2 separate regions of the Homo sapiens genome follow, and region 1 is linked to region 2. The links are contacts of gene promoters, found by promoter capture Hi-C in blood cells and fetal thymus (Javierre and others, 2016). All regions are on one chromosome and are shown on one strand. The core of a region is centred on a gene start or on the middle of the fragment in contact, and the rest is flanking DNA. Distances in the headings are between cores, read along the strand shown.

The links. The method cuts DNA at HindIII sites, captures the fragments that hold promoters and counts their contacts. A CHiCAGO score of 5 or more calls a contact.
Region 1: a contact is called between a fragment that was not itself captured here and the fragment with the promoter of MED7 in region 2, in 1 of 17 cell types (total B cells). The highest score is 5.2, in total B cells.

The regions. Positions count from the first base shown.
Region 1 is chr5:154,041,099-154,044,628 of GRCh38, forward strand. All of the region lies in intron 1 of MFAP3 (microfibril associated protein 3), which reads left to right. Among named protein-coding and RNA genes, the nearest start is that of MFAP3, 3.9 kb to the left of the region's middle. The HindIII fragment of the contact is 1,540 bases long and covers 523-2,062 here.
Region 2 is chr5:157,141,462-157,144,921 of GRCh38, forward strand. It overlaps MED7 (mediator complex subunit 7), which reads right to left and starts at 1,404. Exons shown (of 2, transcript NM_004270.5): 1 at 1,359-1,404. RefSeq lists enhancers at 1,072-1,121, 1,932-2,031. The HindIII fragment of the contact is 9,177 bases long and covers 1-3,460 here.

The DNA of each region.
Region 1 (3,530 bases), core at 43-2,542, 3.1 Mb before region 2:
GCGTACTCTTAATGTGCTAGGGGACTGACAGAGCAAAAAAAAAAAAAACTCATCTGACAAGAGGGTGGGCATGAGAGGGTTTCCTGAATAAGATGAAATTAGAGTTGAATATTATAGAGAGGGTACAGTTTCCCCCAGAAAGATATTGACGGGAAGGGGCAGAAAGATTTTTAAGCAAAAGGAACAACTAGTAAGGTGAAAAGTTATTTAGAGAGAATAAAGTAAAACAAGCGTAGTTTAGGCTTTCAGCCATGGCAGGAAAGCTGGGTAGATTATAGGATTTAAGCAAAGAAACGAATGATAATGATAATCAGCCTCTAGGTGAGGAAACTAAAACCACTGGAGCACATCATAGCTAATTTGTGATAGAGGTAAAACTAAAGACCAGACTTAATGTTTAAATCCATTCATTCCTCCTGCAAGCAATTATCGTACATAGAGGCACCTCTGGGCTTCTCATGACTTTCTGTTCTGCTGCCTGAATCTATTCTTGGAGAATTACAATGCCAAATTGGAATTTTAAGCTTATCTCATGGGCAGTGAGAAATCACCAGTAGATTGTAAAATTACCCTGAATTGCTCAGATTTGTGTTTAGGACCAATTCTGAGTGTCACAGTGTTTGGATACATCATAGAGGTAAAAGGAGTTAAGGAGATCCATTCTGAAATTAAGGGGATAGTGTGGTATACCCAGGTGAGATAAAAGGATATGAGTTAGGACAGAGACAACAGGACTTAATTGAAAAATGTGTAGGAGGTGGAATAATAACAATAGCATATATTTATAATTTACCCACATTAGTTCATCTTATCCTCAAAACTACCCTATGATGCAGTTACTGTTAATATTATTTTATTTAATAAATGTGAAAACTAAGGCCTTGCAAGCCTATGGCTTCACCCAGGGGTAGGATCAGGCACCTTAACTCTAGAGCCCATTCTCCTAACCACTGAGCCATGATTGTCTTACAATTTTGATACTGCAAAACTGGAAGAATTGTCTGGCTATTATCTAAGCTGTTCATAAGCTGAACAAGTAGATCTGAGGGTAAGAGGAGTTCTGTTTTAACTAGACTGAGTTTCAAATAGAGATGTTTCAGACTATAGAGGGGGAAAAATGGCCTGGGAAGATCATAAATCTAAGCCTGTTTCATTGATGTTTTTGTCATTTGCATCCAGTAGCTATTCAGCAAATATACCTATGGCAAAAAGGATATAAGTTATGGGTATAACTGAAATAATCCTGGGTTTAAAGCAAAGCTCTGATAAATACAGACGATGTTTCTCCAGGTGCCAGAAGATATGTTGAAGTTTGAGCTCAGACTGACCAAATGCTAGTTATGGGGTATGTGATAGCTCCAAGGTAGTAATATAAAGGCTATTTTAATTAGAAACTTTTGAGTAAATGGCCCTCAGGATAGTGATTTCTGTTTGAATGTCACTAACCTTTTTTAGTTACAGATCCCTATAATAATGCTTGAGTCTAGGCAGAACAACTTTGTGTTTATTCTTTGCAAAGGGTAGGGTAGTGCTAACAACCTGCTCTTCATTTGCTTTTTCTCCCCTTTGCCGATTCAGAATGCTGCTTTGTCAATTTGTGTGCCTGCTGTAGGAACTGGTCCGTTTTCCAAGTGTGACAGTGCAGGCAGAGAAGGGTGGATGAGCTGTAAATGCAGCCTAGAACACATTTGATTATAGAGAATGAAGCACTAATATCCCAATATAATTGGAGTTTAAAAAAAAAAAATACCACCTGGGCATCAATGTGTTTCCCTGCTTTGCATTTTCCCAGAACTATTTCTGCAAACATCAGTTTCCTCAGCCAACTTAATATTGAGTCACCAGAACGGAAATCAGCCATATTACTTCCTTATTTGTGTTGAAAATTGGAACAGAATGGAAATATTTCTTCCCTCAGAAGTTGGCAGGAACGGCAACAAGACAATCTGTTAGGGGTGACAGCTATAGGCTCTTCTCTTTTTTAAAAATAATATAGTCAATATTCAACATGGTTTTCTGGGGTAAAATCATCCACATTTCTGATTCTTTATGATCCTAGCAAAGCTTACATTCTGTATACCTGAAAGATGAAAAAGGAGTTGGATTAAACTTGAGTCTTACACTTATCTATTACATTTTTATTTATTAATGCTGAAGAAAGGTAATATAGGCTGGGCGCGGTGGCTCACGCCTGTAATCCCAGCACTTTGGGAGGCCGAGGCAGCCAGATCACCTGAGGTTGGGAGTTCAAGATCAGCCTGTCCAACATGGAGAAACCCCGTCTCTACTAAAAATACAAAAAATTAGCCAGGCGTGGTGGTGCATGCCTGTAATCCCAGTTACTTGCGAGGCTGAGGTGGGAGAATCGCTTGAACCTGGGGGGTGGAGGTTGCAGTGAGCCGAGATCTCACCATTGCGCTCCAGCCTGGGCAACAAGAGCGAAACTCCGTCACACACACACACACACACAAAAAGGAAAGGTAATAAAAAATTTTATCAAGTAACTTCATCCACAAACATAGTATAGCCCTTTTTAACTGATAAGAAGAAGGTGACACTTTGGTTTTCCTTTTTGAAATCTGTTCTTGGGTTTCAAATGTCAGCTGCTACATTAAAAACAGCAGGCATAATATATATATATATATTTTTTTTTCCAAATACAAATGCACGTACTCTTGTGTCTCCCATGGCATCTAATATACCTGCCTTAATGACCTCAGCCCACTTAACTGATTTGGTGAACAATTCTGCATCTGAGGCTGTATATGTGAGGAAAAATTAAAGGATTGGAAATGAAAGTAAAATAACTATAGTATAAAGGATCATATGTTCAAAGCATGCAGGCCTAATATTATAGGAAGTCCCAAACATATAAGTGAATTGCATTCCTAGAACTGACACATTTGTCTTTTCTCTGTTGCATTCACAATATAATTACATTTCAGTCACATTGTCTTAGATACAGTTGGCTGTTTCTGGGCTGTCTTTCAAGCTGGTTTGTAAATTCCTGAGGGTCTAGGACAGTGTCCTAATTCTCCTTAGCAACTCTTGCACCACCTACTGTACTTCATCTTCCACGATGGATCCTTGACCTAGCTGAGCTGTAGTTTTAAAGTCATTAGTCTAGAATGAGCAGAATGGTCATAGTCAATGCAGTTTGTGCTGCAAGTAGCAGAAACCCATTCAAGCTGACTTAGCAAAAAGGAGACTTAGTGTGAGGAAATAATAGTACCCTGATACCAAGGATGATTTGTTCTTCCCTCACTATTTTTTTCTGCTTTGTCACCTTCTTGGACACGTATCTTTGCCAGTGTTTTCTCTCACAGCTGCTGAACAGCCTGTTACCTGCAAATGGGTTATATCCGTTAGTCTTTCAAATCAGAAGTCCTCTGTGTTCAGGATGTACATGGTATGAGTGAAGTGCCCAGTATTAACTGGATGTGTAAGGCTATTGTGCAGCCTCTTTCTCTTGTGGCTCAAAATCAGTGTGCCAGGTTTCTTCTGCCATGTTTGGCCTAAGAGCAGTTTAA
Region 2 (3,460 bases), core at 154-2,653:
GATGTGCATTCCTGTATTGCGGCTGCCATTTTCCTAAGGCCAACTACATGACAGGTACCATTTTTTATGGCCTCTGTAACATAATCTTCATTAACAATTCTATGAATTAAGGTTTTTGGGGTTTTTGTTGTTAGTTTTGTTTTTTGAGACAAGGGCTCAATCTGTCTCCCAGGCTGGAGTGCAGTGGTACCATCAGGGCTCACTGCAACCTCTGCCTCCCGGGTTCAAGGGATTCTCCTGCCTGAGCCTCCTGAGTAGCTGGGGACTACAGGTGCGCACCACCACGCCCAGCTAATTTTTGTATTTCTCGGTAAAGACAGGTTTTCACCATGTTGGCCAGGCTGGTCTGGAACTCCTGACCTCAAGTGATCCGCCCACCTCGGCCTCCCAAAGTGCTGGGATTACAGGCGTGAGCCACCACACGGTCCCACGAATTAAGTTCTATTATCAATTTCATTTTAGAAGTGAGGATCCGAAGTCTCAATGAGGGGAAGTGTTGCCCCAGATCAAAAGGTTAATAAATGGCACAACAGGAATTCTTATCCCAGGTCCCTTTAGCTCCAAAGGGCAAGCTCTCTTATATCCCTAAGCCGAGAAGCATCTAACTGTACAATAAGGACTGGCATATCACAAAAATTATATTTCTTTCTCTACTGTCTCTCTAGATGGAACTTTTCAAAGGTGATGGAGGTCTTATTTTTAATAAAAGCAGAGCCAAGCATCAGAGCTGGTTCTTAACTCAAGATCCAACATCTAGTGTTTGTTCTACTGGGGGAGAAGGAGCTTCACCAGAAGACGACAGACATTCCAGGGTCCCAGCCCCAGAGATTTGATTCATTCTGTCTACTGTGAATGGGCCCTAGAATGTCGCTTTTAAAACCTCTCCAGATGGACCTGACGATTAGGCTTGGGATCTACCGCCCTCGCCTGCCCCCATACCTCAGCTGTTTCATAACTGCTCCCAGAAGAAGGAAGGGCAGGGAGGGCTACTCTCATGTTACAAAGAGCCGGAGAGGGCAAATGACTCGCCCAAGGCCACACAGCTTAGAAAAACAGCGGCGCGGGGACTAGACGCCAGGTCTCCCAACCTCCACTCCGGCTCGGCGTCCCAACACGGAGGAAGCCCCGAGACTGCCACGCTTAGAGCCCCCTCCTCCAGGCTGTCCACCCCGAGGCCTCCGCGCTCTCGGAGAGACCGCACTCTCGGAGAGACTCGGGAGAGAAAGACGAAAGACCGCCTTTGGAGGCCGAACTCAGCCATGCCTCCCCAGTTCCCAGCCCAGCACAGAGGAAGCTGCGGGGTCCGGAAGAAAAAAACGCACACAGGCGGCGGCCCCAAACCGTTGCCGCCCACTTACCTCAGCTCTGGCTTTACACTGGTAGCCGCCTTCCCCTCTGCAGCCGAAACCAACTTCCGGTCTCCTCCGGGAAGAAGCCACCGACTCTGTCCTTGATTGGCTGTAAGAGCTGTCCTTTAACGAAATTCTAGCTCCGCCTCAGACCGATCCCTCGCTGTTGCGCCTACGTATGTTTGACTCCTCCCATCCACCCGTTACTGACTTTTAAAAGTCGTAGCTGAGGGTTCCGTTTCTTCGTTTCTTTTTGAATTAAGGCATAAAATTGAACAAGACACCTTATTGCTTTATTTTTTATAGACCCCTTATTGACCAGAAACAATCTTATGTTTTAATGTTTAACATGCTCTTGTAAGACTTAACGTGAATTTAGAAATTTATGACACGAAAATAACCTCCAAAAGAAACGCTTGCTATTGCGCCTGCGTATATTCCACCCCCTTCCCCATTACCACTCTTTTACTGACTTAGTCGCTGCTGGTAGTTCCATTCCTTTTGTCCTTTTTTAATTTAACGCATACAATTAAGACGTCTTACATACAAATTCGAAAATATAGACATGCAGGGTTTTTTTGTTGTTTTTTTCTTTGAGACGGAGTCTTTCTCTTTCGCCCAGGCTGGACTGCAGTGGCGCGATTTCGGCTCGCTGCAACTTCAGTCTCCGGGATTCAAGCGATTCTCGTGCCTCAGCCTCCCGAATAGTTGGGGTTTCACCTATTTTTTTTTCTTTTTTTTGTATTTTTGGTAGAGACAGGGTTTCACCGTGTTGGCGAGGCTCATCTCGAGCTCTTGATATGAAGTGATCCGCCCGCCTCGGCCACCCAAAGTGCTGGGATTGTAGGCGTGAACCACCACTTCCGGACTCCCCCATTTTAAATCCCTCGCACGTATCAATTTATTTCCTGAAGAAATCCATCTACGTTGAGCATAACCCAATCCAGCTTTTCTCCTCACCGCTGACCCCAATGTATCCTGCACCAGTGACTTCCAATGGTCGTTCCCAGTCCTCATTTTACTCCATCTGTCAGCAGCATTTGGCACATTTGATTAATGGATTGCCCCAGGACTCAGTTCTCCAACCACTTCTCAGTCAGATATCAGCTGGATGATTACATGCAGGCCCTGGAACACCGTTTCCTCTGCACTTCAGACCCTCATATCCAGTGGTGACAGACATCTTTCCCCAGTTGCACTTTACTCAATTGCAAATGTTCAATCGAAGGAATCACCTTTTTCTCCTTTCTCACATACCCCACCGAAACTACCATACCAGCCTTTTGCATTAGATCTATTTAAAAATAAGTAAATAAAGTTCCAAATATGACTGACCACCGTTCCCACTGCTATGGTCCTATGCCATGCCACCATTATCTCTCACCTGGACTTCTTTGATTTTTTGTCCTCCCTTAGTCTATTTACCACACCTTCTTAAAATATAAGACCGGTCTTATCACTCCTCTATTCAAAATCCTCCAAGGCTTTCTATGACTTTTAGAATAAAATCTGACATCCTTCCCCTGGCCTATATCACAGGCCCTACAAAATTGCCAAGTACATCCCGGCCTTGGGGCCAATGCATTTGCCTGGAACTCTTTGCACAGATATTGACACGTCTCATTTCCTTCTTTCCTTTTTTTTTTTTTTTTTTTTTTTTTTTTTTTTGAGACGAAGTCTTGCTCTGTCACCCAGGCTGGAGTGCAGTGGCCCAATCTCGGCTCACTGCAAGCTCCACCTCCCAGGTTCACGCCATTCTCCTGCCTCAGCCTCCCCAGCAGCTGGGACTAGAGGCACACGCCATCACGCCCAGCTAATTTTTTTGTATTTTTAGTAGAGACGGGGTTTCACCGTGTTAGCCAGGATGGTCTGAATCTCCTGACCTCGTGATCCGCCCGCCTCGGCCTCCCAAAGTGCTGGGATTATAGGCGTGAGCCACCGCGCCCGGCTTCATTTCCTCAATTCATTCAGGTTTCTGGTCAAATGTGACTTCAAAGAGTTCTTCTGGGGTTACACTACTCTATGCAAAATAGCGCATCCCTAATCTTTCTCTTGGGAGATGCCCCTGAAACCCTTACTATGTATTATCTTTTTTTCATAGAACCTCTCAT